Regions from separate parts of the Homo sapiens genome. Here all the other regions are linked to region 1. The links are contacts of gene promoters, found by promoter capture Hi-C in blood cells and fetal thymus (Javierre and others, 2016). All regions are on one chromosome and are shown on one strand. Each heading gives the region's core, a stretch centred on a gene start or on the middle of the fragment in contact. The rest is flanking DNA. Distances are from core to core; before and after follow the strand shown. Region 1 holds the start of XXYLT1-AS2 (XXYLT1 antisense RNA 2). Region 2 overlaps LSG1 (large 60S subunit nuclear export GTPase 1). Region 3 holds the start of LINC01968 (long intergenic non-protein coding RNA 1968). Region 4 overlaps LINC01968 (long intergenic non-protein coding RNA 1968).

Evidence for each region. The method cuts DNA at HindIII sites, captures the fragments that hold promoters and counts their contacts. A CHiCAGO score of 5 or more calls a contact.
Region 2: a fragment that was not itself captured here is called in contact with the fragment with the promoter of XXYLT1-AS2 in region 1 in 7 of 17 cell types (total B cells, M1 macrophages, erythroblasts and 4 more); the score reaches 7.2 in total B cells.
Region 3: a fragment that was not itself captured here is called in contact with the fragment with the promoter of XXYLT1-AS2 in region 1 in 1 of 17 cell types (naive CD4 T cells); the score reaches 6.2 in naive CD4 T cells.
Region 4: a fragment that was not itself captured here is called in contact with the fragment with the promoter of XXYLT1-AS2 in region 1 in 2 of 17 cell types (neutrophils and naive B cells); the score reaches 6.1 in neutrophils.

What each region holds. Positions count from the first base shown.
Region 1 is chr3:195,146,530-195,149,195 of GRCh38, reverse strand. It overlaps XXYLT1-AS2 (XXYLT1 antisense RNA 2), which reads right to left and starts at 1,325. Exons shown (of 2, transcript NR_102711.1): 1 at 1,091-1,325. All of the region lies in intron 3 of XXYLT1 (xyloside xylosyltransferase 1), which reads left to right. It also overlaps the pseudogene RN7SL36P. RefSeq lists enhancers at 1,208-1,257, 1,498-1,607. The HindIII fragment of the contact is 4,550 bases long and covers 1,223-2,666 here.
Region 2 is chr3:194,655,755-194,658,420 of GRCh38, reverse strand. All of the region lies in intron 7 of LSG1 (large 60S subunit nuclear export GTPase 1), which reads left to right. Among named protein-coding and RNA genes, the nearest start is that of LSG1, 15 kb to the left of the region's middle. The HindIII fragment of the contact is 4,490 bases long and covers 1-2,666 here.
Region 3 is chr3:194,708,323-194,710,988 of GRCh38, reverse strand. It overlaps LINC01968 (long intergenic non-protein coding RNA 1968), which reads right to left and starts at 2,568. Exons shown (of 4, transcript NR_037891.1): 1 at 1,842-2,568. All of the region lies in intron 2 of LOC105374292 (a long non-coding RNA gene), which reads right to left. The HindIII fragment of the contact is 5,304 bases long and covers 1-2,666 here.
Region 4 is chr3:194,763,106-194,765,771 of GRCh38, reverse strand. The region is part of intron 3 of LINC01968 (long intergenic non-protein coding RNA 1968); the gene reads right to left. LINC01972 (long intergenic non-protein coding RNA 1972) reads left to right here. Exons shown (of 3, transcript NR_146990.1): 3 at 162-534. The region is part of intron 2 of LOC105374292 (a long non-coding RNA gene); the gene reads right to left. Among named protein-coding and RNA genes, the nearest start is that of LINC01972, 4.3 kb to the left of the region's middle. The HindIII fragment of the contact is 6,875 bases long and covers 1-2,666 here.

The sequences.
Region 1 (2,666 bases), core at 76-2,575:
CTCTATACCTTTGTACATCTTTTTTTGTTCACTTAACAGTGTATCTTGACCATCCTTATACCTAAGTCAGCCTTCTTTGATAAATGTTGCTGGTCTCTTGGTATGATTTTTCTTTTTACTATGAAAACCTTTCAACATATACAAAAGTAGAAAGCATCATGTAATATTTCTGGATGCCCCAATATTATAATATCCATGCAGCCTCAATAACTATCAGCCCTTAGCCAATCTTTGTTTTATGTCTCCTCCCACCCACTTTTCCTCTTCCCCTGATTATTTTGAAACGAATCTCAGTCGTCACAGCATTTCGTCTGTAAATGTCATTTTCAGTCTATTAGTTTCTTAAAAACACATCTGCTGTGGCCGAGTTTAGAGCTGAGGAGAGTTATATGAGCTCATAGTGTCACTCTGTCTTCAAGTTCCTCAGTCTGAAATCAGTTGGTACAAGGGAAGAAAATAGAGAGAGGCAGCACTAACCTCTAGCCAAGCACACTTTCCATCTCTCTGCAGATTGCCTCATGTCAGGATGTTAGCGTGACCGTCACGTCTGGAAGGCTTTATGGCTGATATAAATTCAGGTCCGTTGTTCACTAGGCATGAAGCCCTCCGTTGTAAGGGAACCAGCCATCACCCTCATTACGAGATGCATAAATGTAGGACTTGAAGATAAAAGCTATTGGGTTCTTTTCGTCTCTCTGACACCTGAAGATGAATTTCTTGAACCTTGTTCTCGTGTTTAAAAAAAAAAAATTAACCAAGATTGAGCCTGTCAGTTTCTATCAGAGTTAAATCTGAGTAAAGGAGAAAAAAGCTTGCCACCTTTTAAAATAGTGATTCCTTCACTCCCTGGGAGTTAGAAAACTGGGCTAAGTGTTTTTGTGTAGCCCGTGTGACCTGGAGGCCGTGCTATAACCCCTGCAGGAATTACTCATAAAAAGGGAGGGATGTACCTGCCCTGTGGTAGAGATCAGAAGTCTACTCTGAGGTTGTTATTTTTAAATAACATCAGTGGAAAAGGTATTTTAAAAGGAAAACTCTGTACAGAGAACCCAAGCGGGATTGTGTTGCTGTCATTGTGACCGTCTCTTACCTGATGGCTCTGCCTCCCGGGCAGGCTAGGAGCTCCGGGATGACGTCCCAAGACTCGGGCGCATAGCGGGGGCTGCTGAAGATCGGAGTGTGAGGCTGAGAGATGAGGTCCAGGTGGAGCACGTGAAAAGCTTCCTGTGTCTGAAAACACGACTCCTTCCAGTTCTTTTGTCTGTCTGCACATTATGAGTATTTTGGTACTACTGAATCCGTTTTTAAAAGTTCACCACGTCGTGCCTGACACAGGTGTCTCCTGAAAGAATGAGTGAGGAAGTGAATGCGTGGAAGGGGTGGGACTGGGAGGCAGCCCTTCTGTTCTGTTTATGCCGTGCAGACCAATGCCAGGCACTTCGATGTTTGTTGAGTGAATGCAGGAACAGATGTGTAGTCAGAGGGCGTTTCCTCCGCGGTGCTGGCCAGCTGCTAAGTCAGGCTCTGTAGTCCCATTACTGGTCTTAGAGAAGTTACTTTCACATTCAGTTTTTGTTTGTAAAGACAGTCCATGGGAAAGTTTGTTATTCTCAGTTTGTTTGTTTGAGACATAGTTTCTTTCTTGTCGCCCAGGCTGGAGTGCAGTGGTGTGATCTTGGCTCACTGCAACCTCCGCCTCCCGGGTTCAAGCGATTCTCCTGCCTCAGCCTCCCAAGTAGCTGAGATTACAGGCGCTGACCACCATGCCTGGCTAATTTTTGTATTTTTAGTAGAGACAGGGTTTCATCATGTTGGCCAGGCTGGTCTCGAACTCCTGACCTCAGGTGATCCACCTGCCTGGGCTTCCCAAAGTGCTGGGATTACAGGTGTGAGTCACCATGCCCAGCCTATTCTCAGTTTTTTATTTGGCTCATTGTGTGTGTGAGCCATAGGATTGGTCCCATGAGGAATTACGAAGTAGAAGACATGCCTCTTGCTTTCAAGGAAGATATAACGTGAGGGAGATAGGGTAGATAAAACTTAATGAAAACGCAAATGCCTGCGGTGTCAACACTGAGTCAGTACTGCTGTTTAGAGATATCCCATGGACAAGATACATAGACTTTTTGCTGTAGGAACTGTAAATTTTACTGAGTGGCTCACCTCTCCCTCAGCTTAATATTCTGCCTTCAGCTGGGCATGGTAGCCTGCACCTGTAGTTCCAGCTACTTGGAAGGCTGAGGCAGGGGGGTCACTTAAGCCCAGGAATTCTGTGGGTGTCTGCACTAAGTTTGGCATCAACTTGGTGACCTCCTGGGAACGGGGGACCACCAAGTTGCCTAGGAAGGGATGAAGCAGCCCAGGCTGGAAATGAAGCAGGTTAAAACTCCTGTGCTGATTAGTAATGGGATTACGCCTGTGACTAGCCATGCACTCCAGCCTGGGCAACATAGCGAGACCCTGTCTCTAAAAAAAGAAACCAAACAAACAAAAATGGAGTTCTGCCTTCAAAATGCTAAGAAGTGGGTATCACATTCCCTTCTTTCCTCTGAAAAGTCTCTCGGAGTGGTGTTTGGCTTTGCAATGCAGGCGTAGCCTCTAAGAGTGCTCTTGGGATAGACCAAACTCTGTGCCCGAATAGAAAGCTCACTGGGCAGGCATTTGCC
Region 2 (2,666 bases), core at 121-2,620, 490 kb after region 1:
AATCCCAGCACTTTGGGAAGCCGAGAGGGGCAGATCACCTGAGGTCGGGAGTTCGAGACCAGCCCTACCAACATGGAGAAACCCCATCTCTACTGAAAATACAACATTAGCCGGGCATGGTGGCGGGTGCCTGTAATCCCAGCTACTCGGGAGGCTGAGGCAGGAGAATCGGCTGAACCTGGGAGGCGGAGGTTGTAGTGAACCGAGATCATGCCAGTGCACTCCAGCCTGGGCAACAAGAGCGAAACTCTGTCTCAAAATAATAATAATAACAACAGCTATGAAAAGAAATTAGTAATTAGAATCGTAGAGATGGAGAGACTTAGGAAGTACTGTCTTTTTCCCTGTCCTTTTCTCCCGTCTCTGTTTATCAGGCATCTGTTGACCGTGGAGTGTGTGTTGAGCTGGGTTATGAATACAACACCCTCCCCTCCATGAGCTCAGTATATAAGCTCTCACCTCTAACTATGTGAAGGAGTTTCTTCCTCCACTTCCCTGTCAAAGTTGCATATTTCTCTTTGACTATTTTAAGCGACAGGATGCTTGAGACCAGGTAACTCGTTTCTTTTTACCTCTAAATGTAGAAAGTTCTTCCATTCAGTGAAACGAAGTCAGCCACCCTACCCTTTGATCTGAGGACTCTTTGTCCCTTCGGTTCTCTCCTGCAGCTGTGCATTTTCAGCTTTCATATTCCTCATAGACACCAGCTCCGGGACACCCATCCTGGGTGCCTGTCTTCTTGCGTCAGGACCACAGGCAAAACTAGCCACACCTAATTGAATACGTTATTCCAGGTGGTATTTGCCTAGGGCGTATACACAGCATTCATATTTCTTGTGATCAGGATAGTCACATTAATTCAGTTTCTGTTAGTTCATCCCCTTTCAGAAGCTGTTTGCTCTTGGCTCATTAAACCTGTGAGCAACCGAATCCCTCAAATATCAAAAAAAAAAAAAAAAAAACTTACTAAGCAAACCTCATCCCATCTTTATATGGAAAGATATTTGTTCTGTTTTACCTCAACTTAGGAGAGTACTGTTCCTTTTAAATATGTTAATGGTTTAGTACCAAGGTAGAGTTCATTTTAGAGTGTGCAGTTAGCATTTCCTTGCCTTCTAACTGTGAATTTTTGTGTCATTGATAACATCGTTGAACAGGCTAGGTCCAAGGATACAGCTCTGTGATCTTTTGTGGACTTACTAGCAGCACTCTATGCCAAGCGTTTTTTTTTTTTTTTAAGGTTGCCTTTTTTTTCTTTTTAATTTTACTATTATTATACTTTAAGTTTTAGGGTACATGTGCACAATGTGCAGGTTTGTTACGTATATATACATGTGCCATGTTGGTGTGCTGCACCCATTAACTTGTCATTTAGCATTAGGTATATCTCCTAATGTTATCCCTCCCCTCTCCCCCGACCCCACAACAGTCCCCGGCGTGTGATGTTCCTGTTCCTGTATCCATGTGTTCTCATCGTTCAATTCCCACCTATGAGTGAGAATATGCGGTGTTTGGTTTTTTGTCCTTGCAATAGTTTGCTGAGAATGATGGTTTCCAGCTTCATCCACGTCCCTACAAAGGACATGAACTCATCATTTTTTATGGCTGCATAGTATTCCATGGTGTATATGTGCCACATTTTCTTAATCCAGTCTATCATTGTTGGACATTTGGGTTGTTTCCAAGTCTTTGCTATTGTGAATAGTGCTGCAATAAACATACGTGTGCATGTGTCTTTATAGCAGCATGATTTATAATCCTTTGGGTATATACCCAGTAATGGGATGGCTGGGTCAAATGGTATTTCTAGTTCTAGATCCCTGAGGAATTGCCACACTGACTTCCACAAGGGTTGAACTAGTTTACAGTCCCACCAACAGTGTAAAAGTTTTCCTATTTCTCCACATCCTCTCCAGCACCTGTTGTTTCCTGACTTTTTAATGATCGCCATTCTAACTGGTGTGAGATGGTATCTCATTGTGGTTTTGATTTGCATGTCTCTGATGGCCAGTGATGATGAGCATTTTTTCACATGTTTTTTGGCTGCATAAATGTCTTCTTTTGAGAAGTGTCTGTTCATATCCTTCACCCGCTTTTTGATGGGGTTGTTTTTTTCTTGTAAATTTGTTGGAGTTCTTTGTAGATTCTGGATATTAGCCCTTTGTCAGATGAGTAGGTTGCAAAAATTTTCTCCCATTCTGTAGGTTGCCTGTTCACTCTGATGGTGGTTTCTTTTGCTGTGCAGAAGCTCTTTAGTTTAATTAGATCCCATTTGTCAATTTTGGCTTTTGTTGCCATTGCTTTTGGTGTTTTAGACATGAAGTCCTTGCCCATGCCTGTGTCCTGAATGGTATTGCCTAGGTTTTCTTCTAGGGTTTTTATGGTTTTAGGTCTAACATGTAAGTCTTTAATCCATCGTGAATTAATTTTTGTGTAAGGTGTAAGGGAGGGATCCAGTTTCAGCTTTCTACATATGGCTAGCCAGTTTTCCCAGCACCATATATTAAATAGGGAATCCTTTCCCCATTGCTTGTTTTTGTCAGGTTTGTCAAAGATCAGATAATTGTAGATGTGTGGCATTATTTCTGAGGGCTCTGTTCTGTTCCATTGGTCTATATCTCTGTTTTGGTACCAGTACCATGCTGTTTTGGTTACTGTAGCCTTGT
Region 3 (2,666 bases), core at 64-2,563, 440 kb after region 1:
GTGGTGCAATCTCGGCTCACTGCAACCTCCGCCTCCCATGTTCAAATGATTCTTCTGCCTCAGCCTCCTGAGTAGCTGGAATTACAGGCGCACACCACCACACGTGGCTAAATTTTGTATTTTTAGCACAGACGGGGTTTCACCATGTTGGCCAGGCTGGTCTTGAACTCCTGACCTCATGTGATCTGCCTGCCTTGGCCTCCCAAAGTGCTGGGATTACAGGCGTGAGCACTGCGTTCGGCCTAGGTTTTGTGTCTCGCAGCCTCAACCACCAGAAAAAGAATTATTGGTCCCAAATTCAAAATTTCCAGGGAAGGGACTTAGTGGCTGGGAGGTGGGTCACTTTGGCCAAGGGATGGCACACAGAAGAAAACACCAGTTCCCTTGGAGACCACAGGAATGAGCTGGGAGCAGTTCTTGGAAGAAGAGACGGTGCTATCGGAAAAAGTGGATGTGCCAGGCGGACTGGGCGGACTAAACAATAGGTTTCCAATTATTGGGTCTACACTTTCCTATATCTAGATTCCACTGAATACTTATTCTGAAATATATTCTTCCAAAAACAGGGTTTGTGGTTAAATAAATGTAGGGGAAACTATAGATTTTATCACTCATAGAGAATCATGAGACATATTAGCATATGAAAGGCTCTGACAATTTCTTTTAAAAAGAAACATCTTCAAGAATATTTGACCCAGTGTTTCCCAAGTTCATTTGATCACTGAAACCTTTTTTAATGCCATGCCCGTAACATTCCATGGGATTAGTGTTCTAAAAACATATTTTGGGAAAGCCATTCTAAGTGATAGATGTTCTTCAGAAAGACGTGAGTCAAATTCTTGAAAATAAGATAGCAGCCTGGGCACGGTGGCTTGCACCTGTGATCCCACCACTTTGGGAGGCCGAAGCGGATGGATCACCTGAGGTCAGGAGTTCGAGACCAGGCTGGCCAACATGGCGAAACCCCGTCCCTACTAAAAATACAAAAAAAAAACCACACAAAAAATTAGTTGGGCGTGGTGGCAGGCGCCTGTAATCTCAGTTGCTTGGGAGGCTGAGATAGGAGAATCACTTGAACCCAGGAGGCAGAGGTTGCAGTGAGCCGAGATCATGCCATTGCACTCCAGCCTGGGTGACAGAGCAAGACTCTGTCTCAAAAAAAAAAAAAAAAAGAAAGAAAGAAAAGAAAAAAAAAAGGCCTTTACACAAACCAGAGAGCTGGGTATTTATAGAAACTGTTAAATTATTTTCAAAGAGTTGTTTCATAACGTAATTTAAACGCCATCAGTGCTACCAGTTTCTAGGCTCAAGAGTTTTACGTGCTCAGAGTTACGTGTCTTATTAACATGGGCTACATCTCTGCAGCCCCAGACCTTCCCTATCTGGAGCATTCCTCTCCCGGGCACCCTCACATGTTGTTCAGAAGCCTTTTCAACTGTTTTCTAATACCCTGTCCCCTTTGGGGTAAAGCACATCTTTATGCCATTATGGGGCTGGCCACTGCAGTTTGCAAAATCAACTTAGCACAGGGACATCTGTTCTACTCTGTGTGCTGGTGTCATAAAAGGTCCCACTGGGCTGAGCAATGCACCTGAGAGCAGTGTTAACAGCACCTCACATCTGGGGTGGCCTGGAGGCTGGGCCAGCATGAATTAGTGTAATGAAGGTCTTCTCCTCTCTCACACGAGGTTGGAATCTCACACCAGATCAACTACCTGGATTAGAGATACAACCAAAGAGCACAGTAAACTGCATGGACATTTAGGACCAGAGCACTAATATAGGTTGGCTATTAAATCTGGAAACAGGTGAATATATAATAAATGGTTTGTTGGTATTACCTTATGATGCATGATAATATAATATCTACATGTCCAGACTTCATGGCCACTCTGTAGCAGAAGCTATTATTTATATCAAGCAGTTATTAAGTGTCAGGAGGTCCTCTTCTAAATGCTTCACCTGAATTAGCTAATTTAATTCTCACGATGCCATGAGGAGGGTACTGTCATCATTTCCACAGTAATAGGTCAGGAAACCAAGGCACAAAGGGCTTCAGCATCTGGCCCAAGGTCCGCTGTTGGTAAGTGGTGGGGCTGAGCTCGGGGAGCCCCACTCTGGAACCGGTACTCTTACACATACACTACGGCCGCCTCTCCAGGTGTCATGAAAGTCTCCTAGGCTTTGCTGAATAGCAGTCAAAAAAAACTGGGATTTAGCCTTCTCTATCTTGCTATTTTTGTTTCCATGGGTGGCATAGGAAAAATCATTGTAATTAACATCTGTACCACTCTTTGTAGTTTGGTCCTCATCACGACCCATTACAGCAAACCAGGCAAGGCCTATATTTCCATTTCCAGATGAGGAAGCTGAGCCTTTAACAGGATCCCTACCTAACAAATGGCAGAGCCATGTCCTCTGACGTCAGGAGCTTCATGATTTTAACTTACTGCTTGTGTTGGGTTCTGTGGTAGCCAATATACAAGGTGGTCCCGAGTGATCTTTGCCTCTTGTGTTATTTCCTCCCACGCTGAACAGGACTCACTTGTATAACCACTGTGACATTGTGGAAATGATGATGTGTGACTTCTGAGGTGAGGTCATAAAAGGCATTGCAGTTTCTACCTTGATCTCTCCTGGATCATTCACTCAGGAGGAAGTTGGCT
Region 4 (2,666 bases), core at 99-2,598, 380 kb after region 1:
TCTTTGAGACCTTGGAGCAGGATTTGCAGGACCAAAGTGTGGGCCAATGAGGTGACAGACTGTCTCAAGAGAAAGAAGGGGAAATTGATGGTAGGAAAATTCATGATGAATTCCTGAAGAGGCTTTGTTTCAGTGAAGCATTTCTTAATTTTATTTTCCAGAATCTTCCCTTCAGAGAATACTAGAAAGTGTTCAGTATGTTAAGCCCTTAGAAATAAATTCTGGCCGGGCGCGGTGGCTCACGCCTGTAATCCCAGCACTTGGGGAGGCTGAGGTGGGTGGATCACAAGGTCAGGAGATCAAGACCATCCTGGCCAACACGGTGAAACCCCATCTCTACTGGGCGCCTGTAGTCCCAGCTACTCGGGAGGCTGAGGCAGGAGAATGGCGTGAACCCGGGAGGGAACCCGGGAGGCGGAGCTTGCAACGAGCCGAGATCGAGCTTGCAATGAGCCAAGATCGCGCCACTGCACTCCAGCCTGGGATACAGAGCGAGACTCCGTCTCCAAAAAAAATAAAAATAAAATTTAAAAGAAAAAAAAAATTCTACAGAAATTCACTAGAATCTCTCCTTCCTTCCTTTCTTCCAACTTTTCCTCCTTTCTTCTTTCCTCCGTTCCTCTTTCCTTCCTTTTCCCTCGCCTTATTCCTAAATGGATTTGAAATAACAAACGCCTCCGTGTTCTTGCGGTCCTGCACTTTAATAACACGGAATTGCACACTGCTTCATATGAGTGGGCCAGTGTCTGGAGTCCAAAATCTTTTCTGTTCTAAGAAATCTAGGCCAAAGCTGAACCTTCAGTAATGAGATCTAACCTATAATCAAATTAAATAGCACAGCATTAGATCAATTTCAGCCCCATACATCCACTGCTATTGGCTTCTACTAAATGTTTTAAATTGGTACAAAAGCCTTACTGAAAGGGAATCTTATATAGACCTATCATATAGAGGATGTTTCCTTAATCATCTTTTTAATGAAAAAAAAACTAAGCAAAAAGAAAACAAAATTAAGATCTAAGAGGCTTCATGATATCATCCCAAACCCAGCCAGTGATATTTTTGAAAGGGCAACAAAGAACTGGCGATAACATCTTTATTTTGGTTTGCTTCTAAGCCTAGAGGCACGGAGAAGATGAGAACATACACTTAGATCATGCCAACTTAGAAGACTTTCTAGTTTTGAAAATAGCATTTCTTCCTCTCCTTCCCAAACAGAGTAGCACTGGAACGCTCCCCGTCTTCATCCTACACTCTTTGACATCACCTCAAAGAGGAAGTCAATTTTACTACATGATTAAGACTCAAGCGAAGCATAATTCATTCAAGCAACTCACTACATATGTCAAAAATATAAATCCAGGGCTGGGCATGGTGGCTCATGCCTGTAATCCCAGCACTTTGGGAGGCCGAGGCTGGTGGCTCACTAGAGGTCAGGAGTTCGAGACCAGCCTAGCCAACATGGTGAAACCCCGACTCTACTAAAAATACAAAAATTAGCCAGGCGTGGTGGCACACACCTGTAATCCCAGCTACTCAGAAGGCTGAGGCAGGAGAATCGCCTGAACCCAGGAGGTGGAGATTGCAGTGAGCCAAGATGGCACCATTGCACTCCAGCCTGGGCAACAGGGCGAGACTCTGTCTCAAAAAATAAAATAATAAAATAAAATAAATAAAATAAAATAAAATAAATCCACGCCTTTCAGGAAAAGATGAAAAATCAGAGGGTCAAGGAAGACTGCATGGGCAACACATTAACTCTCTCCCATGTTCTTTCCTGAGAAGCCAAGATGCCCTGGCTTATGGTCCAACTCCTACCCCCACAGCCCAGAGGAGTCTCCCCTCCTCTAAAGTGGGTCTTAGAAACAGGTCCTTCCTGGCCGGGCTTGGTGGGTCACGCCTGTAATCCCAGCACTTTGGGAGGCTGAAGCAGTCAGATCACCTGAGGTCAAGAGTTCTAGACTAGCCTGCCTAACCCCATCTCTACTAAAAAATACAAAAAAAATTCACCGGGTGTGGTGGCACCTACCTGTAATCCCAGCTACTTGGGAGACTGAGGCAGCAGAATCACATGAACCCAGGAAGCAGAGGTTGCAGTGAGCCGAGATCGCACCACTGCACTCCAGCCTGGGCGGCAGAGTGAGATGCCATCTCAAATAAATAAATAAATAAAATATTTATCATGAATGATATCCCAAGGGGCCTGTGAAGACGCTGATGGTGTGTGGTCTGGCTTCCTTCTTTTTTTTTTTTTTTTGAGATGGAGTCTCGCTTTGTCACCCTAGCTGCAGTGCAGTGGCTCGATCTCGGCTCCCCGCAACCTCCACCTCCCAGGTTCAAGTGATGTTCGTGCCTCAGCCTCCCGAGTAGCTGGGATTACAGGTGCACACCACCACTCCAGGCTAATTTTTGTATTTTTAGTAGAGACAAGGGTTCACTATGTTGGCCCGGCTGGTCTCGAACTCCTGACCTCAGGTGATCCACCCGCCTTGGCCTCCCAAAGTGCTGGGATTACAGGCGTGAGCCACTGCACCTGGCCGGTCCTGTTTTCATATGCATTCAAATTCATTGATTTGCCACAAGAATGCTATCAGGTAGGTGCTGTGTTCAACCCCACTTTAAGGGTAAGAAATAGGGGGCACAGACAGAAGTAGAAGGAAGGATTC